7 separate regions of the Homo sapiens genome follow, and regions 1, 2, 3, 4, 5 and 7 are each linked to region 6. The links are contacts of gene promoters, found by promoter capture Hi-C in blood cells and fetal thymus (Javierre and others, 2016). All regions are on one chromosome and are shown on one strand. Each heading gives the region's core, a stretch centred on a gene start or on the middle of the fragment in contact. The rest is flanking DNA. Distances are from core to core; before and after follow the strand shown. Region 1 overlaps LOC105375815 (a long non-coding RNA gene). Region 2 has its middle 76 kb from the start of SPIDR. Region 3 has its middle 84 kb from the start of LINC00293. Region 4 has its middle 54 kb from the start of SPIDR. Region 5 holds the start of LOC105375814 (a long non-coding RNA gene). Region 6 holds the start of CEBPD (CCAAT enhancer binding protein delta). Region 7 has its middle 94 kb from the start of SPIDR.

The links. The method cuts DNA at HindIII sites, captures the fragments that hold promoters and counts their contacts. A CHiCAGO score of 5 or more calls a contact.
Region 1: a contact is called between a fragment that was not itself captured here and the fragment with the promoter of CEBPD in region 6, in 1 of 17 cell types (total B cells). The highest score is 6.0, in total B cells.
Region 2: a contact is called between a fragment that was not itself captured here and the fragment with the promoter of CEBPD in region 6, in 5 of 17 cell types (M0 macrophages, monocytes, neutrophils and 2 more). The highest score is 10.2, in M0 macrophages.
Region 3: a contact is called between a fragment that was not itself captured here and the fragment with the promoter of CEBPD in region 6, in 1 of 17 cell types (neutrophils). The highest score is 6.1, in neutrophils.
Region 4: a fragment that was not itself captured here is called in contact with the fragment with the promoter of CEBPD in region 6 in 11 of 17 cell types (M0 macrophages, monocytes, M2 macrophages and 8 more); the score reaches 28.8 in M0 macrophages.
Region 5: a fragment that was not itself captured here is called in contact with the fragment with the promoter of CEBPD in region 6 in 1 of 17 cell types (erythroblasts); the score reaches 5.5 in erythroblasts.
Region 7: a fragment that was not itself captured here is called in contact with the fragment with the promoter of CEBPD in region 6 in 2 of 17 cell types (M0 macrophages and monocytes); the score reaches 5.3 in M0 macrophages.

The regions. Positions count from the first base shown.
Region 1 is chr8:47,048,003-47,051,984 of GRCh38, reverse strand. The region is part of intron 3 of LOC105375815 (a long non-coding RNA gene); the gene reads right to left. Among named protein-coding and RNA genes, the nearest start is that of LINC00293, 210 kb to the right of the region's middle. The HindIII fragment of the contact is 217 bases long and covers 2,067-2,283 here.
Region 2 is chr8:47,183,325-47,186,890 of GRCh38, reverse strand. No RefSeq gene overlaps it. Among named protein-coding and RNA genes, the nearest start is that of SPIDR, 76 kb to the left of the region's middle. The HindIII fragment of the contact is 907 bases long and covers 1,274-2,180 here.
Region 3 is chr8:46,923,274-46,927,441 of GRCh38, reverse strand. No RefSeq gene overlaps it. Among named protein-coding and RNA genes, the nearest start is that of LINC00293, 84 kb to the right of the region's middle. The HindIII fragment of the contact is 4,336 bases long and covers 119-4,168 here.
Region 4 is chr8:47,204,720-47,208,481 of GRCh38, reverse strand. No RefSeq gene overlaps it. Among named protein-coding and RNA genes, the nearest start is that of SPIDR, 54 kb to the left of the region's middle. The HindIII fragment of the contact is 1,089 bases long and covers 1,630-2,718 here.
Region 5 is chr8:46,950,801-46,954,613 of GRCh38, reverse strand. LOC105375814 (a long non-coding RNA gene) reads left to right here and starts at 2,730. Exons shown (of 3, transcript NR_188092.1): 1 at 2,730-2,951. The HindIII fragment of the contact is 7,979 bases long and covers 1-3,813 here.
Region 6 is chr8:47,736,721-47,740,578 of GRCh38, reverse strand. It overlaps CEBPD (CCAAT enhancer binding protein delta), which reads left to right and starts at 2,415. Exons shown (of 1, transcript NM_005195.4): 1 at 2,415-3,666. The coding sequence starts at 2,459. The coding sequence ends at 3,268. RefSeq lists silencers at 1,587-2,056, 2,147-2,226, 2,267-2,376, 2,867-3,056 and an enhancer at 2,453-3,391. The HindIII fragment of the contact is 19,422 bases long and covers 1-3,858 here.
Region 7 is chr8:47,164,932-47,168,559 of GRCh38, reverse strand. It overlaps the pseudogene NDUFA5P12. Among named protein-coding and RNA genes, the nearest start is that of SPIDR, 94 kb to the left of the region's middle. The HindIII fragment of the contact is 679 bases long and covers 1,312-1,990 here.

The DNA of each region.
Region 1 (3,982 bases), core at 926-3,425, 690 kb after region 6:
GGGCAGTCATTAAATCTTAAAGCTCCAAAATAATCTCCTTTGACTCCATGCCACACTGACACAAGGCATGGCCTCCCAATGCCTTGGACAGCTTCACCCCAGTGGCTCTGCAGGGTACAGCCCCTGTTGCTGCTTACTGGGACTAGCACTGAGTGCCTTCGGCTTTTCCAGTTTATGGTGCAAACTGTCAGTGGATCTACCATTCTGGGGTCTGGAATATGGTGGCCCTCTTCTCACAGCTCCATGAGGCAGTGCTCCAGTGGGGACTGTCTGTGACATCTCCAACCCCACATTTCCCGTCTGCACTGCCCTAGTAGAGCTTCTCCATGAGAGCTTTGTCCCTGCAGCAGACTTCTGCCTGGACATCCAGGCACCTCCATATATCCTCTGAAATCTAGGTAGAGGCTCCTAAATTGTTGCCTTCTATGCACCCACAGGCTTAACAGCATGTAGAAGCCACCAAAGCTTGGGACTTGCACCCTCTGAAGCCAGTGTCTGAGCTGTACCTTGGCCTCTTTTAGCCACAGCTGGAGCTGGAGCAGCTGGGACACAGGGCTCCATGTCCCAAAGCTGCACAAAGCAGTGAGATCCTGGGCACAGTCAAGAAAACTATTTTTTTTCTCTTAGGCCTTCAGGCCTTTGATGGGAGGGGCTGCCATGAAGATCTTGAAATGCCCTGAAGACATTTTTTCCCATTGTCTTGGTTATTAACATTCACCTTCTCTTATGCAAATTTCTACAGCCACTATCTTGAATATCTCCCCAGAAAGTGCATTTTTTCCCCAACACATGGTCAGGCTGCAAGTTTTCCAAATTTTTATGCTCTGTTTTTTTTTTAAAATGTAAATTCCAATTTCAGACCATCTCTTTGTGAAGACACATGACTATACACGTTAAGAAACAGTCAGGTCATGGCCGGGTGTGGTGGCTCACGCCTGTAATCCCAGCACTTTCGAAGGCCGAAATGGGTGGATCACGAGATCAGGTGTTCGGGACCAGCCTGGCTAACATGGTGAAACCCCGTTTCTACTGAAAACACAAAAATTAGCTGGGTGTGGTGGCACGTGCCTGTAATCCTAGCTACTCAGGAGACTGAGGCAGGAAAATCATTTGAACCTGAGAGGTGGAGGTTGCAGTGAGCCAAGATCACGCCACTGCACTCCAGTTTGGGTGACAGAGCTATACGCAGTCTCAAATAAATAAACAGCCAGGTTATATCTTGAATGATTTGCTGCTTAGAAATTTCTTCTGGGATGGGCACGGTGGCGCTTGCCTGTAATCCCAACAGTTTTGGAGGTTGAGGTGGTTGGATCACTTGAGGTCAGGAGTTTGAGACCAGCCTGACCAACATGGGGAAACGGTATCTCTACAAAACGTACAAAAATTAGCTGGGTGTGGTGGCATATGCCTGTATTTCCAGTTATGCAGGAGGCTGAGATATGAGAATTGCTTGAACCCAGGAAGCGGAGATTGCAGTGAGATGAGATCACACCATGGCACTCTAGCCTGGGTGACAGAGCAAAAGTCTCTCAGAAAAAAAAAAAAAAAAAAAAATTCTTCTGCAAAGATACTCCAAATAATCTCTCTGAAGTTCCAAGATCCATAGTTCTCTAGTTTAGGGGAAAAATGCTGCCAGTCTCTGCTAAAGCATAGCAAAAGTGATTTTATTTTTGTGGCAGTTGTGAATGAGATTTAATTTATGATTTGGCTCTTGGCTTGCCTGTTGTTGTATGGGAATGCTGGTGATTTTTGCAGATTGCTTTTATGTTCTGAGACTTTGCTAAAGTTGCTTATGAGCTTTTTCTGTGAAGCTGTTGGGCTGGGATGACGGGGTTCTATTGAAATAGAATCATGTCATCTGCAAACAAAGATAGTTTGACTTCTCTTTATATTTGAATACCCTTTATTTCTTTCTCTTGCCTGATTGCCCTGGTCAGAACTTCCAATACTATGTTGAATAGGAGTGGTGAGAGAGGGCAGCTTTCTCTTGTGCTGGTTTTCAAGGGGAATGCTTTTATCTTTTGCCTATTCACTATAATAGTGGCTGTGAGTTTGTCATATAAGCTTTTATTTTGAGGTACGTTCTTTTAATACCTGGTTTACTGAGAGTTTTTAACATGAAAGCATGTTGAATTTTATCAAAGGCATTTTCTGCATCTGTTCACATAATCATGTGGTTTTTGTACCTAGTTCGGTGTATGTGATGAATCACATTTGATTTGTGTGTGTTGAATCAGCTTTGCATCCTGGGAATGAAGTCAGCTTGATTGTGATGGATAAGCTTTTTGCTGTGGTGGATAAGCATTTTTGCAGTGCTGGTGGATTCAGTTTGCCAGTATTTTGTTGAAGATTTTGGCATCAATCTTCTTCAAGAATATTGGAGTGAAGTTTTCTTTTGTTATGTCTCTGCCAGGTTTTGGTGTACTGGCCTCATAGATTGAGTTTAGCTGTTTGGAATAGTTCCAGATGGTACCAGCTCTTCTTTGTACCTCTGGTAGTATTCAGCTGTGAATTCATCTGGTCCTGGGCTTTTTTTTTTTGTTTGTTTGTAGGCATTTATTACTGCCTCAAGTTCAGAACTCATTATTGGTCTATTCAGGGATTCAGTTTCTTCCTGGTTCAGTCTTGGAAGGTTGTATGTATCCAGGATTTTATCTGTTTCTTCTAGATTTTCTAGTTTATGTGCATAGGGGTGTTTATAGTATTCCCTGATAGTTGTTTGTATTTCTGTGGGGTCAGTGGTGATATCCTTCTTATTATTTCTGGTTTTGTCTATTTGAATCTTCTCTCTTTTCTTCTTCATTAGTCTAGCTAGTGGTCTATTTTAATAATTTTTTCAAAAAACCAGCTCCTGCATATGTTGATTTTTAAAAGGGTTTTTCGTGTCTCTATCTTTTTTAGTTCAGCCCTGATTTTGATTATTTCTTGCCTTCTTCCAGCTTTGGGGTTTGTTTGCTCTTGGTTCTCTCATTCTTTTAGTTGTTATTTAGGTTGTTGACTTGAGATCTTTCTGGCTTTTTGATGTGGGCATTTAGTGCTGTAAATTTCCCTCTAACACTCCTTTAGCTGTGTCCCAGAGATTCCCAGGTGTATTGTATATTTGTTCTCATTAGTTTGAAAGAACTTCTTGATTTCTCCCTTAAGTGCATTATTTACCCTTTCAGAAGCAGGTGGTTCACCTTCCATGTAGTAATATGGTTTTGAGTGAAATTCTTAATCCTGAGTTCTAATTTGATTGTGCTGTTGTCTGAGAGACTGTTTATTGTTATTTCAGTTCTTTGGATTTGCTGAGGAGTGTTTTACTTCCAATAATGTGGTCAGTTTTACAATAAGTGCCATGTGGCGATGAGAAGGATGTATATTCTGTTTTGGGGTGGAGAGTTCTGTACATATCTATTAGGTTCACTTGATTTAGAGCTGAGTTCAGTTCCTGAATATCTTTGTTAATTTTCTGTCTCAATGATCTGTCTAATATTTTCAGTGGGGTGTTAAAGTCTCCCACTATTATTGTGTGGGAGTCTAAGTCTCTTTCTAGGTCTCTAAGAACTTGTTTTATGAATCTGGGTGCTCCTGTATTGGGTTCATACATATTTTGGATAGTTAGCACTTGTTGAATTGAGCCATTTACCATTATGTAATGCCCTTTTTTGTCTTTTTTTGGTTTTAAGTCTGTTTTTTTCAGAAACTAGGATGGCAACCCCTGCTTTTTTCAACTTTTTATTTGCTTGGTAAATTTTCCTCCATCCCTTTATTTTGAGCCTATTTGTGTCTTTGCACATGAGATGGCTCTCTTAAAGACTGCGTACCAATGGGTCTTGATTTTTTATCCGGCCTGCCAATGTGTGTCTTTTAATTGGGGCATTTAGCCCGTTTACATTTAAGGTTAAAAATATTATGTGTAGGCTGGGCGCGGTGGTTCACACCTGTAATCCCAGCACTTTGGGAGGCCAAGGCAGGTGGATCACGAGGTCAGGCGTTCGAG
Region 2 (3,566 bases), core at 478-2,977, 550 kb after region 6:
TCTGACACTATCTACATGAAGATGGGGTCTGATCTTACAGCTTGAGGGCTCTTTCACGAAGACTGTGCCCCACTTCTTATGCCAATCACAAGCCCAGGTTGCTTCATCTGTGCTTCTGACCAAAGACCTATAAACTGAGGATCCCACAACTCCTCCTTGGCTTCAATTAATTTGCTAGAATGCCTTGCGGAACTCAGGAGAACACTTACTTAAATTCACTGGTTTATTATAAAGGATATAACCGACACAGATGAAAAGGTGCATAGGGTGAGGTATGGGAAGAGGTGCACAACCATCCAGTAACCTTCATGTGTTCAGTCCCCGAGAAGCTCTCCCAATCCAGCCCCCTTTGGGTTTTTATGGAGGCCTCATCACACAAGCTTGATGGAGTAAACTACTGACCACTGGTGATTAACCTGCAGCCCCTCTTCCCTCCATGGAGGTTGGGAGACAAGGCTGGAAGTCCCTATCCTCTAACCCTGCCTTGGTCTTTCTGGTGACTGGCCCCTATCCTGAAGCTACCTAGGGACTGCTGGCCATCAGTCATCTCAGTGGCATACAAAAAGGCATCACTTCAGTAATTCTAAACGTTTTATGAGTTGTATGATGGGAAATGGGGTCAAAGACCAAATTCATAATTTATGATATCACAGGGATGGAAAAGAAACAGGAGACCGAGGATTTCTAGCCCACACTAATCCCTGTTATGACAGATATGGAATCCCAATCCACAGGAGGCAGGAAGCTGAGAGGTGAGACAAAACCTATGAAAATCAGAGATGAGGGGCAGGTCTCAGTTTCTTGTGACTGAAGTGATAGAGCCCTGCCAGGCTCTCACTTGGATTGACAAACTAAATAAAAATATATACCCTTAAAACAAAGAACACATCTGAGTATGCATCCGAAAGAATGGAAGTTAGGATCTTGCAGAAATATCGATACACTCTTATTCATTGCAGTATTAATCACAGTTTCAAAGACAGGGAGGCAATGTAAGGTCCACTGATCAATGAATGTTTACAGAAAATGTGGTGTATAGATGCAATGGGATACTATTCAAATTCATAGAGAATTAAATCTTGCCATATGCTACAACATGGATAACACTGGAGCACATTATGCTGAGTGAAATAAGTCAGTCACAGGAGAAAAAATGCTGCCTGGCTCCATTTGTGTGAGGTCTCTATCATAGTCAGCCTAACAGCAGTGGAGTAGAATGCCAGGGGCAGAGGGAGAAGGAAATGGGGAGTCACTGCTCAAGGGCTATGAAGCTTCAGTTATGCAAGATAAGTAAGTTCTAGAGATGTGCTGTGCAACACTGTGCTTACAGTTAACAATGCTGTATAATGTACTTAAAATTTTGTTAAGAGGGTAGATTTCATGTTAAGAGATCTCATGTTAAGTGTACTTATTAAAATGGAAAAAAAAGGCCAGGTGCGGTGGCTCACGCCTGTAATCCCAGCACTTTGAGAGGCCGAGGCGGTGGATCACGAGGCCAAGAGATCGAGATCATCCCGGCCAACATGGTGAAACCCTTTCTCTACTAAAAGTACAAAAAATTAACTGGGCGTGGTGGCAGACACCCAGCTACTTGGGAGGCTGAGGCAGGAGAATCATTTGAACCAGGAGGCGGAGGTTGCAGTAAGCCGAGATTGCGCCACTGCACTCCAGCCTGGCAACAGAGCGAGACTCCGACTCAAAAAAAAAAAAAAGAAAAAAAAAACCCTTAAAAATAACAGGATGGAAAAAACATACCATGAAACCATTTACAGAAAGTTTCTGTGGCTATATTAGTGGTACTAGGAAGTGCAGAAATCCTCAGCCCTTTGTTTGTATTGGGAAAAAGATTTCAGCCAAGAGACAAGTTAACCAAAAAAGAGGGAATTTATTGAAGGAAGATAGGGAGCAGAAACTCTATGTGGCGGGACAGTACTTTGAAAGGTGCAGTTAATGAATGCATACTGCTTTTTCTCGATACTGGGGCAGGTAAAGATGGACCCTTTTCTGCATCTGTGTTGTGAGTAGCTAATCATCCACCCTGTAGTGCCATGAAGGTCAGGGCCATTTGCAAGCACAGAACCTACATTTTCTTTGTACGGTGATTCCACATGCACATATGAGTCACTGCTGGTCACTGAGTGAGGCAGCATCCTTACTCTCAGTGACCTTGCTAGTAAGCTTTCCTGGGGTTTGATAGTCAGTAATAGGTGCATGTGTAGGTATATGGATGTACGTATGTGTATATGTGTGTGTGTATATATATAGAGAGAGAGAGAGAGAGAGAGAGAGACAGAGTCAGAGAGAGCACATGAGTGCTGGGGGAGGGGAAGAGGCTTCACAGAGGTCTTGAAGCATGAGGAGTAGTTTGCCAGGAGATAGGGGATGAAGAACATTCTAGACAGATGGAAAAGGAGGAGCAAAGGCATGGAATGGGGACTAGAGAGCCTGGAGAGGGCAGAAGGGAAATGGCTGGAGGGGTCATGAAAAGCCTGGAATGCCACTCTCCAGAGATTGAGTTCCACCTTGCAGTACAGAGGATGACCTGTGGGTTTTATTTCATAAGTCATCTTCATTTCATTGCTAGTGTGCTAATTTCAGAGCATGTGTTAAGAAGGATTCCGAGGTGGGGCCAGGCACGGTGGCTCATGCCTGTAATCCCAGCACTTTGGGAGGCTGAGGTGGGTGGATGACGAGGTCAGGAGATCGAGACTCATCCTGGCTAACATGGTGAAACCCCATCTCTACTAAAAATACAAAAAAAAAATTTGTTCGGCATGGTGGCGGGCGCCTGTAGTCCCACCTACTCGGGAGGCTGAGGCAGGAGATTGGCGTGAACCCCGGAGGCGGAGCTTGCAGTCAGCTGAGATTGCGCCACTGCACTCCAGCCTGGGAGACAGAGTGAGACTCCATCTCAAAAAAAAAGAAAAAGATTCCGAGGTGGCATCAGGGCAAAAAGTGACAGATCAGTTAGCAATGTCCCCTGTACTGCAGGGGTGGAGCAGTACACTCCACTAGAGTGTACTGGGTGGGCACTAGAGATTTGCCACCCCTGCTGTAGGACAGTGAGAGCCACTGAAGGATGGGAGAGGGTTGGGGTAGAGGAGCAGGGGCTCGGTATGTGTGTTGTAGAGGATCAACCGGAAGCTCTGGGAGCACGAATCATAGGGAGGCAAGGCTAAGGTCATGTTGCCAATGAGCCAGCACTGAGTTAAAAAATATCTGAGGAGCAAATGAACCGCTGAGTGTCTACAAGGCAAAGAGTGGACATTTGCCTTGTGGAACACAAACGCCAGTATATTTTATGTGCAGAAATGTGAAAAGGAAGAGACAGAGGGACCAACGGAGACACAGAGCAGACAATGGGTGCACAAACCAGCCGTTTGTCCTTCTCAAGAGCTGCCCAGTTGGGAGTCAGCCCCACTCTCCTCAAAGGCCCTTTAGCAGAGGAGGGGACTGCAGCTCCTCCAGGTCTAGGGTGGCTTCAGGGTGGAAGGCACTCTCCCTGACATAGCTCCTCTAAGGGCTGGGCCTCTCACCTGTCTGAATCCCAGGGTGATGCCTGCACA
Region 3 (4,168 bases), core at 1,037-3,536, 810 kb after region 6:
TTGTGTGTCCTTTGCTTCTGAAAGTAAAGGCAATGAGGGTGCCAGCAATACATCCTGAGCATTTACATTTACTGACAGAAACCATACTTGTTTGTTATGCAAAAGTTCTGTAGAAGCTTAGATATGCAGTAGAAATTATTTAGGTTGAGACAAGTGGTAACAATTGTGGCTATTGCTAGGGGTCATTGCACTTAAACACCAAATGCTCTCCTGCCCAGGGCATCACATTCCTTCTGTGTTAAGCATAGAGTGGACTGTTGGTGTGTTGATGAAGTAGAATTTATGCAGTTTTCCCTCTTCCAAGGTGCTGTCATCCATTGAAAGACTTTCTCAGTCAACCCTGTATAGAAGGAAAGTTTGGAGAAATCTTGAAGAATAAAGACTTGCACAGAGAGTTGAGCAGCAGGTTCTTAGAGAAGGCAGTCCGTATTATCCATCTACTGCTGTGTAACACATCGCCACAAATTTAGCATCTTAAAACATGACACATTTATCTCACAGTTTATGTGGGTCAGGAATCCAGGCCCAGTGGGGCTGAGTCCTCTGATTCTGGCCCTGGAACAAGCCTGCAAACAAGGTGTAAGCCAGGGTTGTTGTCTCACCTTGCAATGGATAATTTTATGTGTCAACTTGACTGGATTAAGGGACACCCAGATAGCTAGTAAAGCATTTTTGGGTGAGTCTGTGAAGGTGTTTCTGGAAGAGATTAGCAATTGAATCAATGGATGGTGTTTTTGCTGGGGTTCTCCAGAAAAAAACCAGTAGGATATCAATATCTAGCTACAGACAGAGATATGTGAGAAGAGACTTATTAGGGGAACTGGATCACATGATTATGAAGCCTGCAAAGTCCCACAATAAGCCGTGTGCAAGTTGGAGACCCAGGGAAGCCCATATGTAACTCTCAGTCCCAGGCTCAATGTCTGGGAATCCAGTGGGGTGGTGGGGGCTGGGGGATGGTTCTGGTGTGAGTCCTGGAGTCCACAGGCCAGAGAGCTTGGAGTTCTGATGACCAAGGGCAGAAGTGTGTCCTAACTCCAGGAGAGAGAGCGGGATAATCACCTTTCCTCTGCCTTTTTCTTTAGGATTCTCTCCAGCTGATTGGACAGTGCCTACCCACATCCAGGGCATCTTCCCCACTCAGCCTTACCCACACCCAGGAATAATGCTTTATCGGTGCTCTAGGTATTTCTTAACCCAGTCAAGCTGGCGCACAAAATTAACCATCACACTGAGTAAAAAAGAATTGTCCTCACTGATGTGGGCTGGCATCCTGAACATAACAGAACAGAAGGCTGGGGAAGAGGGGATCTGCTGAGCTAAGGCACGCATCTACTCCTGCCCTCCAACATAGGGGCTCCTGGTTCTCAGGCCACTGGATGCTGATTGACCTACACCATGGGCTTTCCTGGGTCTCCAGCTTGCAGAGGACAGGTTATGGGGCTGACTCCTCAGCCTCTGTAATCACAATTTCCATAATAAATCCCCTTTCATATATCCACATATATACGCTATCAATTTTCTTTCTCTGGAGAACCCTGGCTAATCCCTACCTGAGATCTTGGCTGGGACAGGGCTGTTCCTCCCTCCTGTGATATTGGCAGGACTCGGTTCTCTGTGGGTTATTATGCTGAGCCCCTTGATTTCCTGATGGCTGTGGCTGCAGGACACCCTCAGTTCCTGGCCACACGGACAGCTCATGGTGTAGCAGCTAGCGTCATACAAGCTGGCAAGGGTGAGTGTCTGCTGTCAATAAGGATGTTACAATCTCATGTTATTCAATCACATCTGTCACAGAAGTGGCATCCCCTTGACCCTGAGAGATCCTAACATCACAGCGAGTTACTCAAGAAGAGGGAATTGCACTAGGCTGTGAATACCAGCAAGCAGGGGCTGCTGGGGCAATCTAGAGGCCACCTACTGCAGCCAGCCTGCTGGCCGCTGGTGATGCCACCCCCTGGCATCCAGGTCTTCATGTCACCTCTTCCCCTAAGTGTGGGCAGGACTTGTGGCCAATTCAACAGCCCACGAAATGCCAATCCTCCAAAGACAACATGAGCTTGGAAGTGGATCTCTCCCGAGTCACATTTTGAGATGAGACCTTCAACTCTGGTCAACATCTTGGCTGAAGGCTCATGAGACCTCCTAAGGAAAAGAACCCAGGTGAGCCCAGATTTCTGCCCCTCCAGAAACTGCGAGATGATGACTGCAAGGAATTTAAAGCTGGTATGTTTGTGGAAATGTGTCACACAGCAATAGATAACTAATGCACCATTTGCAATAATTCCTCCAATGGCAGGAACTGCCGACAAAAGGTTTGGGATGCTGGGAGGATTTCTGGTATGAAGAGATTCAGAAGCTGTGCATCTAAACTTCCCGGAGAGACTTAGTGTAGAGATAAACCCTGGGGTAAATGAAAAGAGAGCACTGTAGCAAGTCTGTGCATAAAGCACTGGCCTATGTGATACAGTGATTAACAAGTCCACCATGTATTATGCAATATTATAGAATACCCCTCTTTTCTGTGGCTCTTGTTAATTTTTTGTACCTCTGAATGGTTATGCACTTGGCAAAAAGTTCCTGATGTGTGAACATAAATGTCCAAAGCATGGGCCCGGCCTTTCCTTTCCTTGAAGTTTTCACTATTTATCACCAGACATCAACTATCTGTTTGAGTTTGGCACTGGAGATGCTGACCTGAGCTGGCCTCCTGGCATAGTTTTTTCACTGGGGGAAACTTTCACCCTAAAAATGGCATCCCTCTAGCAAGGAGTCATGTGTCTTGAATCCTACTTTCGGCTCAAATCCTGGGGTGCTATTGGCTGAGGAAAAGTCCTCCTTTTGCTGCCTTTGAGATGTTTGTAAAGCCCCATGGCCCCCCAGCCTGGCCTGTTTCCCCTGGGAGGCCTCCCCATGGGCAGGACATGCTATGTGCTTCTCATGCCTGATGGGGCTGCTCATGCAAGCCCAGGTGAAGTGATGGGTGATGGAACCTGGGAGGGATGGTGTGAGTCCTTATGCTTCTTGCCCTGGTGCTCAACAATTCTCCTTGGGACCCAAGTGGCCCCAGATGTTGGCATGCATCAGGAAGGATCCAAGAACAGCTGGGCTGGCCCGATGGTCTACCTCATGGGTTTCAGGGCACTGAGAGCTGGCCAGTCACATTCCCATGGCAGCCCAACAAGGCCCAGCAGAGGGGTGGGTGGTGGGATGGCAGGGCTTGTAGGGCAGAGCATTCTGATGGGCCAGGGCCTAGTTTGAGTAGGGCTGCTCTGTGGGCCTATATCCACAGGCATTGCTGTGGCTTTGGCCAAGACCTCTGGGCTCCCTGAACATCAGGCAGCCTCTCCTCCTTTAGGGAAGATGGACAGTTACCCCTGAGCAGGGCCATGCGGGGCAAAGCACAATGGTGGTTGTGAAGTTTTTTCAGAGACAAGATGCTGTAACCACAACACGTGTGGATTTCCACTGCAGGAGCACCCAGTGCCATGTTAAAAGACATGTGAGTTTGGAGTTTATGTGGGTATGGTATTGGCTTAGTGGTTTCTCCCCATCTTTTTTGTCTACTTTTCTCTTTGTCTACCTGCTTGCCATGAGCCTGAGGGCAGGGCCTGAATCCAGCAGCACCAGAACCCAGGTGGCCTGGCTCTCCAATAAATGGAAAAGAAAGCTGGGTGGAAATATGGAGGACAATGGTAAAGGCCTGGATTACAACTGAGTATAGACAGATCTGAAGTGGCCAGTGTCCAGGTGCTGAACTTATAATAGTCCATCCTATGCGGCTTAGCGATTCCAGCCATCAGCCATTCCTGGTCCCTGCTCTGCCTGCCTGCAGACACCAGGCTCCCCACAAGGCACTTTCCCACTGCCCTTGATCTCAGGGCATTCATGTCTCCCTGCTCTATTCGGAAACTATCCTGCACAGACCACAGCTAAGCACACCACTACCATAAGAGTCTAGCTGCATTTCTCTCTGGCCCCAACTCTGGCCCTCACTCCTCATTCTGGTTTCCTCTCTTTAACCTCTGAGCCTCTGCACTTGCTGTTCCTCTTGCCGAGCACACCCTTCCTCTCCATTCCACATAGTACAATCTTACTCATGCATCAAGCCTGAACACAGGAGGATGGCTCCGACCACTCGGTGAGTTCCCACTTCTCTAAATTCCTG
Region 4 (3,762 bases), core at 925-3,424, 530 kb after region 6:
ATCCCCTGTGCTTCTCCTTGAGCTCTGGGAACTGGGGAGGAAGCAGCTGAGGGTTGGGGGTTGATTTGTCAGAGATGTTGGAACCAGAGTGACTCCATCTTGAATACGGGCTGGGTAAAATGAGGCTGAGACCTGCTGGGGTGCATTCTCAAGGGGTCAGGCATTCTTAGTCACAAGATGTTTGTAGTTAAGGGAACAGATTAATAATACTTACTAAACAGATGCAGGACTTAACAGACTCAGGAAATGTCCTGATGTCCTAGTATCTTAAGAACAAGAGCCCTCTTAGTTCTTAGTTTAAGAATATTTTGCTTTAAAGATAAAAATACAGATTCTTATGGAAGACAGTAGTTACACAAGATGAACACTGTTTTGTCATGAGCCCTTGTAGTGGAGCACATCTCCCCCATGATTTTTTTTGCTTTGCTCTCTTGTACATAAAAAGGCATTGTACCTAAGGTGGGCATGTTCCTCCTCTTGCTTTTGGAAATGCCCTGCTCTGCCTATGGAGTAGCCATTCTTTCATTCCTTTACTTTCTTAATAAACTTGCTTTCACGTTACTCTGTGGACTCTCCCTGAATTCTTTCTTGTGCAAGATCCAAGAACCCTCTCTTGGTATCTGGATCAGGACCCCTTTCTGATGGGTGGATAGATGGTGTCTGCCATGCAGCCATTGCTGAGCCAGGCTCAGGGAGAAGGGGCAGAATCTCACAGTGGACTTCAACCAGACTCAGTCTGGTGGAATATTCACAGCCACACAGGGGGCCCTAGAGGGGGCTCAGTGTGACAGCAGAAGTGAGAGGTGTGTGGGCAAAGGAGCAGTTCATTGAGACTTCAGTGGATCCAGTATAGAGGAAGAGCAACTGGCCACGTGGTTGGGGCAGAGGGCACTTTGAGAGAGGGTGGGATAAGGGGAGAGTTTCCAGAGATGAGGCCTGCGGGGGAAATGCAAGACCTCCCAAGGAATTAGCAAGTGGCTTGGTGTGTCTCATGGGGTGGGATTCTAGTCATCTGGATGGGGACAGCTGCCCTGGAGCAGCCCTGGGAGAGAGCTTAGGAAGGAGGCTCACCTGAGAGCAGCTGTGACTTCTGGAGCTGCACAGTTGATTCTTCCCAAGTGAGACACACAGAGGTTTTATTTTCATTGCCTTTTTCTCAGATTCTTGACTATGTTAACCTGGGGTAAGGGATGTGAGAGAAAGCAAGAACCCCCTTTTTAAGGGGCCTGCAGACCCCAAGCACAGAAATAAAGGAAAATCCTGAGTTCCTCTGAGGGCAATTCCAGGCACTTCGCAATCCCCAACAAGTAAATAAGTGACTTGTTAAGAAGACAACAGTAGGCTAAAACAATAGCTAAAGAGGTTAGAGTCCCAGAGATATTAGCTTTCCCTACAGAAACCAATGATAATCTCTTAGCTTATGTCCCTGAGTTGTCTTTCAGAGGCTTGGATCCCCACTGAGGACCCCACAGAAAGGATCCACTGACATATTCCCCCAGATAAAGGGGAAGTGAAGACTAAACTTTAAACGATTTTTGGTTCTAAGTTTCTTCCCAAGGGGTTTAGAGAAAGTCATTCCTCATAACCAGTTAACATTCTTCTACTGACCCCAAATGTTTAAACAAAGCTTCTCTATTTTAGTCAACTGCAAATCAGAAGATCTTTGAATCTACCTATGACCTGTAAGCCCCTGCTTCAAGATATCCCACCCTTTGGGGCCAAAAACAACATGTAACTTCTGTGTATTGATTTGTGATTTTGCCTGTAGCTTCTGCTTTCCTGAAATGTACTACTAGTTTTAAAAACCCTTATCTGCAAGCCACCGGGGAGTTCAGATTTTAAGCAGGAGCCCGCCAGATTCTCCTTGCTTGGTGCCCTGCAATAAATGCCTTCCTTTCTATTCACTGCAAAACCCTCAGTTTAGATATCTGGTTTTACTGCGCTGGGTGAGTGGACCCCAGTTAGATTCTATAACAAGCCCTGGGTGTTCTCAGGCAGCCAGGGGAGGAGGTAGTTACTGATTCTTCCCCAGTCTCTGGGGAGCATCAATCTTGCAGAAGGTGCTTCTAGGCAGAAGCCTGAGCAACAGCAGAACCTCCTGACTGATTCCCATAGGCTCAGCCTCAGGGCCTCCCAGCCCAGAGACCAGCCCACGGGTCACATTCCTTTCTCTTGCAGTGGGGTATGTGTGCATGTGCATGCATGTGCAAATGTGTGTGTGTGTGCATGTGTGTGCATGTCTTCACAAATTCATTCTGTACTACTCCTGCTTCTCTCCATCACTGTTGCCCATCTGCAGGCCGTGGCCTGTATTGCATGAGGAGGGCAGCTGTGAAATTTAGTTGGGGAGGATCCCTTCCCCTCCCCACCCTCTTAAATCCACTCAGAACTGGTGTTTCAGGGAGAGCCTTGGATTCCACAAGTCCAGTGCTTTAAAAGTGAGCCTCAGAAAGGGAGGGGAACAATTCTGTTCCTCCTGGCTGTGGCAGCTGAAAATACCTGGAAATAGATGTGCTTAGAGTCCTGAGAAGACAGGGTGGGGCCTCAAGCCCCAGACACTAGGGGGTCCTGGATCAGTGTTCCAGGCTGGAGGTGCTGGCCTCACAATGCCCCTACCTGCAACTCAGTGAGGAAAAGGGTTGCACACACACGCCCCCAACCTGCTTCCTCTCCCTTCCCTCAGTCTACAGCCTTGAGAACTAAGAGCTCACCTAAGCTTTCATCAGTCACTGCTGTATGTGTGCTCTTGTCTCTGTGTGTGTGATAGTGTTTGTAGATTTTCCCACCATACTTGGATGCTTGTATTTTTTACAGAAAAAAAAATATAGTCACTATCTGAAATATAAGACAATGAAAAGTACATAAAGTCAGCTCCTTGTCATTCATTCAGTGAATATTTATTGAGCACTAGGCCTTCCCAGATACTGGTACCGGGAGTATTGGTGTGAATACAGCAGCCACAGTGCCTGCCCTTAAGAAGCTGACATTCTAGTGAGGGAGACAGACACAAAACAAGTTAATGTGAAATTACCAAGCATGGCACATGCCTATGAAGAAAAGAATAAGGTTCTGGAAGAGAGAGGACCTCAGGGCATCTCCTAAATCCTTATCCATACCCATATCCTTACAATCAATCATGTTTTCCAATGGCTTATTTTAGTGATTTATACATCTTGGCTCAACATCAGAACCATCCGAGGAACTTTTATTTTCTGTACTATGGAAATCTATACCTCACCTGACCTCCTGAATCAGAATTTTCACCCAAGGAGCTATACATTTATGAAGCTCCACAGATTATCTTGAGACATGCAAGATTGAGGACCATTGGCCCATTTAGGAGGCTGTGCACACATGACTCCTGTTTTCTGTGGTGAAAATAGAGGCGAGCTCAACATTCCTGACCCAGCGTGTCTTTCAGATGGTTCCATAGTACCACCTCCTGAGCCGGTTCAGCTTTGGCCTGTGGGGTTCTTTTTTTTTTTTTTTTTGAGACAGAGTCTCGCTCTGTCACCCAGGCTGGAGTGCAGTGGTGCAATCTCAGCTCACTGCAACCTCCGCCTCCTGGGTTCAAGCGATTCTCCTGCCTCAGCCTCTCAACTAGCTGGGATTACAGGCACCCGGTACCATGCCTGACTAATTTTTGTACTTTTTTTTTTAAATTAGAGACGGGGTTTCATCATGTTGGCCAGGCTGGTTTCGAACTCCTGACCTCAGATGATCTGCCTGCCTAAGCCTCCCAAAGTGCTGGGATTACAGGCA
Region 5 (3,813 bases), core at 431-2,930, 790 kb after region 6:
GGTGTGAGGCCAGTCTGAAACTTCAGTCACCATTGATCTGTTAATTCCAGGCGTCGGCTTGACTGGCTGTGCGCTACACAGAGATTTGAGCAAACATTCCTCTGGGCAGGTCTCCGTGAGTGCTTTTGGATGAGATGAACATTGTAATCTTAGATTAAGTACAGAAGAGAGCCCTCCCTAATTTGGGTGGGCCCCATCCAATCAGCCAAAGGCCTGAATAGAACACAAAAGCTCATTAAGACAGAACTCCTTCTGCCTGACTGCCTTTGAGCTGGGACATGAGCTTTCTCCTGCCTTCACACTCCAACTGAAACATGAGTTCTTCCTGGGTCTCAAGCTGCCAGCATTTGGACTGGAACCTGCTGGGTCTCTTGATGACTGCAGACCTTAGGACTTAGCCCCCATAATACTCGTTATATATAATTATGTCATATATCTAATTAATATAAATTACATAGTTATATAAATTGATATGAATGTATAATACTTGTAAACATATAATGTATATCATATGTAAGTATTTCTCTAGGGAACACTGACTGATACACCCATCCAGCCCGCAGCTGGTTCTGGCTGTACTGCCAGGGTTCTTTGCTCCATGCTGAATGTCTAAGTCAGGTCTTGTTGCTAATTATGCAAGAGTGATGGAAACCCCTAACACCAAGAAATCATTCAAAGAAAACATTATTTTTCCATTTTATCTCTCTTTTGCAAGATAGTAAGATCTCATCAATACTTACCCTAGATCAGTATCAAAGAGAAGAGAGTTCAGCAAAGACAACACAGGGAAGAGAAATTGAAAGGTATCAATGGCCCTTATGTGCCATCTATAAGATAAATAAAATTCTACCTTATTTAATTCACATGTCAATTTGATTTGGGCAGTGATGCAATCAGTCTCAGACATGAAGAAAGCAGTACTCTGAGAGATAAAGTTGCCCATCCACAGTTCATAACCAGTGAGTGGTGGAGCTGAGAGGAAAGCCTCCTGCCCCATAGCCTCATCCCCTCCCCTAGCTAACCGTGGGCCACCATGACAAGTCCACCCGTCCTGGAGCCCACACTCACCCCTAGCCCTGCCATGCTCACCTTGAGCCTCACGCACTTCTCAGTTCTCCCCTGATCCTCCTACAGCATGGACCTGGGCAGACATCCTGTGAACTGCTTGAGTGCAGTCAGGAACCCAGGCCCCCCAGAGTGCCAAGGAGTCAGGTTTCACCTGACCCCTCAGTCCAGAGACAATGACTGACTTCAGACACATCTAGCAACAGCCTCAAGCAGAGCACTGAGCTGCGCCTGCTGGATACAGGGCTATTACTCACCTCAGATTTCTCCTGTCCTCTGTGAAATGGCAAATAAATAATGGCCCCTAATCTGCCCTAGGCTCAGATCTGCCTTTGCACCTAATAGCTGTGTCCTGTGACCCTTCCTTCCCCTCTTGTAGCCCTGCCTCCTCACCACGGCCCCCCCAATACTCTTCTTTTACATCTTCTCAACTTGAACTCTGCTGCAAGTGAGAGGAAGTAAAAGAAGAGTATTGTGAACCCACATCTCACTGTGCACTCTAACCATGCCCCCATCTGTCATGATGCTTGACACAACCCAGCCCAGTGGTTAAAGGATGTGATTCCAGAGCCTGAGCCCCTGGGTTGGTCTTAGCTCTGCTGTGGTTCCTAGAAGTGTGACCTTGGCAGTCACTGTGAACTCTGCTCACTGGGTTCCTCATATGTAATGTGAGGAATATTGCGAGGGCTAAGGGAGTAGGTACAGAGGAGAAGCAAAACAGTGTGCCTGGGGAAAGTCATCAGCACTGGTGAGAATCATAGAGTGATGCACTGGGCACAGAAGGGAGGTGGTCTTAAGGAGTGATAGGCAGAGAGCGTGAGGGTGGCGTCCAGATCCTGGGAAATCTGCTTTGATGCAGCGCTGGTTTCTTGGTGTAAGTCAGTGATTAATAAATCGTCATGCTGTGTGCTGATGATGTTTACATTTTCTGTCTTTGTATTATACTTTTAAAGTCAACATTTTAAAAATAATGCCTGGAAATTTAATAATAATTCCTGGGAGGTGATCAGACCTCTAAAAGCTGTGGAGATGGTGAGGTCCAAGCATATCTCTAAGGAAGAAAAGAAAATTTCATGAATATCTGGGGTAAAGTTGGGGTAAAGAGGAAATTGCATTAAGGGAGATGATATATAGATAAGAAAGATAGGTATAAGAGAGACATAGATTAATTGGTGATAGGTGATAGATAATAGATTGATTGATTAATTAATAAATGACAGATAAATAGATGAATGTATGACAGATGATAGTTGATGGATGACAGATGGATGATATAAATTAATAGGTACCAGATAGATGAGGATAGATTGAAACAGTGATTGTGATAGACAGTTGATAGATAATTGATTAATAAGTGATAGATGATAGATAATTGATTGATAGATCAATAGGTGATAGATAATAGACAGATGATACATGACAATTGCTGATAAATAGATAGATGATGAGTAGGTGGATGGGTGAATAGATGGATAGATGATGAGTAGATGGATGGGTGAATAGATAGATAGATGATAGAAAGAACAGTTATGGGTGACAAGTAGGAAGGACCAGAGAAGAGAGGGGAGAATAATGGGGGCCTTGGGGTTACTTCCTCCTTTGTCCCCTCCCTAAGCTCAAGACCCCTTTGTGACTGTACCATATCTTTGTGATGCGGGTCAGGAACTCTAGTCTAGAGAGCACATTCTCTGCTCAGTTGCCCGGGGAAGCCACTAGCTACAGATGCTGGAGAATTTGGGCTGGTTTCTTCTGCATTTTAACAATCCCTGGGGCTTTCTTTGGTTCTTTCTTTATTTGAGTGAGGTTGAGATCATCTTTCTATCATGTCTCTGCATTCAGTGATATCCATATTTATCCATGTTTGAAAAGACACAGACATCAATCTGGTAAGGAATCCCAAGGGCTGCCCACATTAGAGGTTAACTTCTGTTTTCCTATTCCTATTTTCTCTTTTCATAATCTATCCTTGGGATGGAGAGACCTCAGGAATGGGAACTCTCGGGGGACATTAGAATAGCATTGGTCTAGGAGAACAGGTTGGGCAGCACAGAAGGTAGGTGGGGACAAAGGCTTTTATCCAAAAGTTACAGACCATTTGCCCAGGTGTGGTAAAATCACAAATACCATGGAATTCAGGCCCATAGATTGGTTTGTTAAAGAATTCAGGACACCAGAGGGGAACAGGCCCTCAAGAGTTGCTCACCAGCAGCCTTTCCGTCACAGGAGGCTCTGGGCCACAACTCTCCTAAGAGTTAGGGCTGAGCTGGAGAGCAGTGCTGACCTGTGAGAGGCTCTGGCTGCTTTCTACTCCTCCATTTGTCCTCAGGAGGCAGAATCCTAGAGAATGGAGCAGAAGTTCCCAAAGGTCTGCAAATCTGTGCTCTTTCTCAGTAGAGGACTTTCCAGGAGTCCCAGGACTGCTGTCTGAAATATGCATTTAGAAGCAAATATGAAAAACAATTCTTTATTTGAAATTGACAGAGAAGGAGTCAAACAAAACATGATCCATTTTAAAAGTGAATAACATGAAAGCAATATCTCAATTAAATCAGCATAGGAAGTCACGTAATTAATTAAGAAAAGTTCACTGTTTTTTTTTTTTTTTTTGACAGGGTCTTACTCTGTCACGCAGGATGGAGGCTGGAGTCCAATGGCACAATTGCAGCTCACTGCACCCTCAAACTCCTGGGCTCAAGGGGGCCTCCCATCTTACCCTCCCGGATAGCTGGGACTACAGGCGTGCACCAT
Region 6 (3,858 bases), core at 1,166-3,665:
ATGTAAACTCAACTTAGTGTTAATAAATGTAGCTTTGGGAGGCAGAGGCGGGTGGATCACGAGGACAGAAGAACGAAACCATCCTGGCTAACACGGTGAAACCCGTCTCTACTTAAAATACAAAAAATTAGCCGGGTGTGGTGTCACGGGCCTGTAATCCCAGCTTCTCCGGAGGCTGAGGCAGGAGAATCGCTTGAACCCGGGAAGCGGACGTTGCAGTGAGCTGAGATCGCGCCACTGCACTCAAGCCTGGCGACAGAGCAAGACTCCGTCTCAAAAATAAAGATAAAAATAAAAATAAAATGTAACTATATTGACTATCGGAATCAGTAAATCATCTCACTGAAAATAGTCTCTGAGTTGTTTTTAGGAGGATATGGTTATCCCTTATAAATATTGATTTTGCATTCCCTAAGTGATTAGGGAGGGCTTTAATAGTGTTTCTATGGCTTCTGAAATATATGAGAACAAAACAATTTGTGCTAGAACTTTTTCTGGATGTGCGTAAGTCCACACTCTATGCATTGCTGGATTTCAGTCTTAATAGGTAATTAATTGTGTGACATCATCATTGTGTACCCTCTGAGTAACTCTAAAGAAATATGTTTGTTCTTTAGGAAACCTATTAAATATCCCATAGTGCAACGTTAGAAATGACCTCTGGAACTGACTGCAGAAACTGCACAGCAGTTAGTAGAGCTTGGTGTTCCGACGCAGATCTGGTGAGAGGCCTGCGCAGGAAGAGACTCGACATGGAGCAGGTGTGACTAGCGATAGTGATTTAATGGATTTGGGCCCGACATGGTGGCTCACGCCTGTAATCCCAGCACTTTGGGAGGCTGAGGCCGGCGAATCTCTTAAGCCCAGGAGTTTGAAACCAGCCTGGACAATATTGTGAGATCCCATCTCAATTTTTTTTTTGAGATGGAGTCTCGCTCTGTCGCCCAGGCTGGAGTGCAATGGAACGATCTCGGCTCACTGCAACCTCCGCCTCCCGGGTTCAAGCGATTCTCCTGCCTCAGCCTCCCGAGTAGCTGGGATTACAGGCGCACGCCACTACGCTTGGCTAATTTTTGTATTTTTAGTAGAAATGGGGTTTCACCATGTTGACCAGGCTGGTTTCAAACTCCTGACCTCAAGTGATCCGCCCACCTCAGCCTCCCAAAATGCTGGGATTACCGGCATGAGCCACTGTGCTCGGCTGAAAAAAACCATATTTTTAATTTAAAATAATAAATGGGTCTGACCAGAAATGCCTGCCTCAAATTGCAGGACACATGACAAAGCCCATTCTTACTTAAGACATTTTCAGTGTGCGATGGGTCTACCGGGATGTAACCCCATCGTGAGTCGAGGCCCATCTGCACCCTGCTATAGCTACTGGTAGATCTTACCTGTTTCCCAAAAAGGACCCAACTACTTTAGGTTCAAGGCACTTTTTTGGAATATTTAACAGGGAAAGAGCCTGGAACTAAAAACAGGTCTAACGCAAGATGCCGCCACACGATGGCACTGCTTCCGTAGACCTGGAAGAAACGCGGGCGCGGGAGCTGGCGGCGGACGCCCGGGTCTGCGGGGTCGGGGAGTAGCGTCCGGCCGGAGAGCCCGCACCTCGAGGAGCCGGCGGAGGACGCGGTGTCGTGACCGCGTCTCCCCCATCTGCTCTGCTTTTGGCGACAGCGTCCCGTCGGCCTTTCGGCCAGGACGCAGCAGCCGCGTCTCTGGGCCTCGACCCCCAGGGCCGGCCGGACCCGGGACCTCCGAGGAGAGCAGCGAGAACCGGCCCGGATTCCCCGAGGCGCCCGAGTGCGGTGCGGGCAGCCCTCCCCGCCTGCCAGGCCGCCGCTGTCCCCACGTCTGGTCCCCCACGCCTCTTCCCGCATCTGGTCCCACGGTGGAGGCGCGGGGCGAGGGCCTCACGCGCGTGCCCACGGTCGGGGGGCGTCCTTGGACGCGCGGGTCCTCTCCCACGGGTCTCCACCCCCCGCCCTCCGGCGACAGGAGCCGGCCTGGGACGCGCGCGCTGCGGCCAAGTCCTGGTTTTGATTTCACTCCCAACCCCGAGGAGCGAGGAGGTTCCAAGCCCACAAACAGGAAGAAGAGAAGGCCCTGGAGTGCTGGCAGAGGGAGTGTCATTCCCAGCAGCGCAGCGCAGGCCGGCCCGGGCCGGGGAGGGAGCAGCAGCGCGGGCACCCTCCTGCAACGTGGGCTGGGGGTCCCCAGGGCCGGGGAGGGGGCCCCGGGGAGGAACTGAGAGGGGGCGCGCCCCGGGAAGGCTCGGGGCGGCTCCGGGGGGCTCCCAGGGCGCCCCCGCCCCTTCCCCCGCGGCCCCGGGGCGCCCCCGCGGTGCCGGAGTCGGGGCGGGGCGTGCACGTCAGCCGGGGCTAGAAAAGGCGGCGGGGCTGGGCCCAGCGAGGTGACAGCCTCGCTTGGACGCAGAGCCCGGCCCGACGCCGCCATGAGCGCCGCGCTCTTCAGCCTGGACGGCCCGGCGCGCGGCGCGCCCTGGCCTGCGGAGCCTGCGCCCTTCTACGAACCGGGCCGGGCGGGCAAGCCGGGCCGCGGGGCCGAGCCAGGGGCCCTAGGCGAGCCAGGCGCCGCCGCCCCCGCCATGTACGACGACGAGAGCGCCATCGACTTCAGCGCCTACATCGACTCCATGGCCGCCGTGCCCACCCTGGAGCTGTGCCACGACGAGCTCTTCGCCGACCTCTTCAACAGCAATCACAAGGCGGGCGGCGCGGGGCCCCTGGAGCTTCTTCCCGGCGGCCCCGCGCGCCCCTTGGGCCCGGGCCCTGCCGCTCCCCGCCTGCTCAAGCGCGAGCCCGACTGGGGCGACGGCGACGCGCCCGGCTCGCTGTTGCCCGCGCAGGTGGCCGCGTGCGCACAGACCGTGGTGAGCTTGGCGGCCGCAGGGCAGCCCACCCCGCCCACGTCGCCGGAGCCGCCGCGCAGCAGCCCCAGGCAGACCCCCGCGCCCGGCCCCGCCCGGGAGAAGAGCGCCGGCAAGAGGGGCCCGGACCGCGGCAGCCCCGAGTACCGGCAGCGGCGCGAGCGCAACAACATCGCCGTGCGCAAGAGCCGCGACAAGGCCAAGCGGCGCAACCAGGAGATGCAGCAGAAGTTGGTGGAGCTGTCGGCTGAGAACGAGAAGCTGCACCAGCGCGTGGAGCAGCTCACGCGGGACCTGGCCGGCCTCCGGCAGTTCTTCAAGCAGCTGCCCAGCCCGCCCTTCCTGCCGGCCGCCGGGACAGCAGACTGCCGGTAACGCGCGGCCGGGGCGGGAGAGACTCAGCAACGACCCATACCTCAGACCCGACGGCCCGGAGCGGAGCGCGCCCTGCCCTGGCGCAGCCAGAGCCGCCGGGTGCCCGCTGCAGTTTCTTGGGACATAGGAGCGCAAAGAAGCTACAGCCTGGACTTACCACCACTAAACTGCGAGAGAAGCTAAACGTGTTTATTTTCCCTTAAATTATTTTTGTAATGGTAGCTTTTTCTACATCTTACTCCTGTTGATGCAGCTAAGGTACATTTGTAAAAAGAAAAAAAACCAGACTTTTCAGACAAACCCTTTGTATTGTAGATAAGAGGAAAAGACTGAGCATGCTCACTTTTTTATATTAATTTTTACAGTATTTGTAAGAATAAAGCAGCATTTGAAATCGCCCCTGCTTCCTATATTCGCAGTGACTCCCGCCCGCCCGCCGGTGGCGCAGGACCCGGCTCGGGAAGGGTGCGTTCCGGACCCGCAGCCAGCGAGCACCAGGGAGCCCGGGCGCCAGGTGTGTGTGTGGGGGGGGCGGGGGGATGGGGCGCAGGCCCGAGCTACTCAGGAGAGAGGGTCTGTCGCTTTTAAAA
Region 7 (3,628 bases), core at 402-2,901, 570 kb after region 6:
AAATTGAGTATATTTAAGGAGAAATGCAGCAAGAATGTCTCCATCCAAGGCCACTGTTTTTAGGAGAGCAGGCTTTCTGGGGCATCTGAAGCCTCAGAGAGCCTGGTGTCTGTCCCCAGAGGTGCCTAAATAATTGAATGATGGACCACTGAGGGAGGAGAGTCATGGGCAGGTCTGGGTCTCACCTGTTCTCCAGCCAGGAGCCCTGTGTGAGCGCTCAATTTGCTGTCGCAGAAATGTGGGAAGTGTCTGGCCATTCTTATCCCATGATTAAGGCATGGCTGGCATTATGTACGAATGTATGGTGTATGCCCAACACCATATATGTACAGGCAAGCTTTATTATGCATGAACTGGATTTCACATAAAGTGGTAATTTTATTTAAAAGGGAGTCATTAAAAAGTGTAAATATCACAGTGTGGATATATGTTATCTAAAACTCCAAAAGGTAGTGAAACTGGTAACAAACTACTTCTCATCTTTGGACAGATACAACAACAGCATTAATGAAACTGGTTGCCAGACAAGTATGTACCACTTGCTCCTGTGCCTTAGGAAGAGAGGATGTTATAACATAGGCATTTTGATGCAGGGATTCATGGATAGTTGTTCCCTATTAACAATGCTAAAATTAAGTTCACATTTTTTACTTTGTGTGGGAACTGAAGACTCTTGTTCTTTTGAGGGCTACCTTTCAAGGTGTTGACCTCAAAGCCACTTGTTCCAAAATGCACCAGAGATGGGAATTTAAACCTCTTCACAAAGCAAACCACTGGTAATTCGTAGGAAGTATCCAACATTGTTTTACAACTGATCTCCAATAATATGGCAAACATCATTTCTTTGGAACACAATTTTCTTCATCCCACAAGAAGTTACAGGATAACAAAACTGGTAGTTAAATGACAACAGTCTTGTTACAAGACAGTTATTTCCCAGATGTATGTCACCAGTTCTAATTTCACAGCACTGGGGCCATGACCATGAGGTGGAACCATCCTGCGTTGCACACTGTGACCAGCAGGGGCGTTCAAACTGCCTTTTCTGCCCTTAATGGTGCACATGGGTGTTCTACCTGCAGGCACCGTGTGGCAGGTGTGGCGTCCACAGTGAGGAGAAAGTGAAGCACTCCAGGTCCCTCAGGACTTGCTGGACGGGACACTGCGGCAGCTTTGGGATGACTTGGGACTGCGCCCTTGGGAAGAGACAGCTCCTATCCACTGTGCTGACTGCTGAGGAGGGAGCTTCCTTGCAGTTTCGCCTCAGCGCAGCTCCTCAGCTGTTTTTTCTTCATTGTGAGTATAGAAGCTTTCATTTTGTGGAATGTTCTGTTATTCCCATCAGGTTCTCACTCATTTTCCTCTTTTTCTGTTAGTATTTTAGTGTGTATTTTACAGTAGTATTCATTCCCCTAGGGCTTTTGAGGGTGGCAGCATAGGAGGCTGTAGAATTTTAGGCTTTAGGACTTTTTCTGAGGGAAACTCCTATGTAGATTGAGAGAGAGGGAAACTGTCTGTGGGAGGAAGGGGAAGCCTGGCCCAGGATGGGTGTCGGAGCCACACCCTGCTTGATTGTGCTGCATCCAAGCCTCAGGTGGAAGGAAAAGAATCCCAGCCACCTCCAGAGTTTGCTGATTTTTATTTTTTTTGAGACAGGGTCTGGCTCTGTTGGCCAGGCTGGAGTGCAGTGGTGGATCTCAGCTCACTGCAACCTCTACTTCCTGGAATCAAGGGATTCTCCAGCCTCAGCCTCCTGAGTGACTGGGCCTGTGCCACCATGCCCAGCTAATTTTTTTTTTTATTTTGTTGTAGAGATGGAGTTTTGCCATGGCACCCAGGCTGGTCTCAAACTCCTGAACTCAAAGCAGTCCTCCCGCCTTGGCTTCCCAAAGTGCTGGGATTATAGGTGTGAACTACTGCACCTGGCCTGCTGAATTTTTTTTTTAAAGGCGAAAACACATGTAATTTTATTTTTGTTTAACATTAAGCTTGCCAACTTCTTTCCCTGAACAGCATTTGTCTTGTTTTGATACCCACCTACACTTATATTAGAAACGTACTGCAAACTATTTAGTGATTCCACTTTGAACTTATAGTCGTATGACTAAGATATTTTGAATATAAGCCTATCCATATGCCAGATATAAATTTCAGGAACTCTTAATGTCTCTTCTTTTACAGAAACTCTACCTCTATCCTGATGTAATTAGGTTGATTAAGAAAATTAAAGGCCATGGGCCAGAAAACTAATTTCCACAAATGCAACAAAAGGAAAAGTTTCTCCAGTAACCTCTATGCAATGGGAAATCTTTCTTTTAAGTACCAAGTGAATTTCTTCAACTGTACAATGTATTCTAATTTGAAGGTTTTCAAATATAATACAGTAACAACAAAATATAATAAAATTAAGACTATGAGAAAACAGAGTAAATGGTATAATTCAAATAATGAATAAAATAAAATGACATTATGGATTTGTAATCAACCTATAATTACATATTTAAATTTTACTTTACATACATAAGATCACAGCTAAGGAGGTTAACCATAATGTCAAATTTTATCACCAGCCACTTGTGCTATTTTATCACATTTGAAAATATTCACTCGTATTATTTACTTTAAACAGTGATCTATAAATTTGTTTAGACTATGATAATTAAGGACCTTTTCTTCTTCAGGATAACTTGAAAAATTAAATGATGTATTGACCATACTACTAAAGAAACTTTACTTTTTGATTATGGTCTCTGCATTGAAGAATTTTTCTTTAATAATTTGCAAATCTTCCCATGACCTCTCTGTTCATAGAAATATCATCTTTGAAATAACTTGTGTGAACACTTTATAAATCAAAAATGGATTCACATGACCATATTACCATAATTACCAATTTTAACAGTCTCCTACATATTTTCTATATCACTTTTCTTGATTATAAAATGTCAGTAATATGAACATGCTCTTAATATAACAGAATATTTAATTACATCAGTTTCCCATCAACACACCAAAGTCACTTAATAATTACATTGGCCATTTCCACTGATCAGCAGGAGGCTCTTCCACTGATGACTCCCATGGTTTCCACTCCCTCATTTTTCTTGCCAGATTTAGTTCATGTTCAGCCTAAAGAATCACTTCGGCCGGGCGCGGTGGCTCACGCCTGTAATCCCAGCACTTTGGGAGGCCGAGGCGGGCGGATCACGAGGTCAGGAGATCGAGACCATCCCGGCTAAAACGGTGAAACCCCGTCTCTACTAAAAATACAAAAAATTAGCCGGGTGTAGTGGCGGGCGCCTGTAGTCCCAGCTACTTGGGAGGCTGAGGCAGGAGAATGGCGTGAACCCGGGAGGCGGAGCTTGCAGTGAGCCGAGATCCCGCCACTGCACTCCAGCCTGGGCGACAGAGCGAGACTCCGTCTCAAAAAATAAAAATAAAAAAAGAATCACTTCTTCTAATTGACTGCCTTGAAGTTGGTCTTCTAATTTTTTAACTTCTGGTTCCGCTTTAACCATAGCCAGCTTCTCATTTCTAATCTCTTCTGTATACTTTCTATATGCTGCATTTTTAGGGATTTCCTCAAGAGCATCAAGAATCCTTGTGTACAATATTCTTAGCCTCTCGT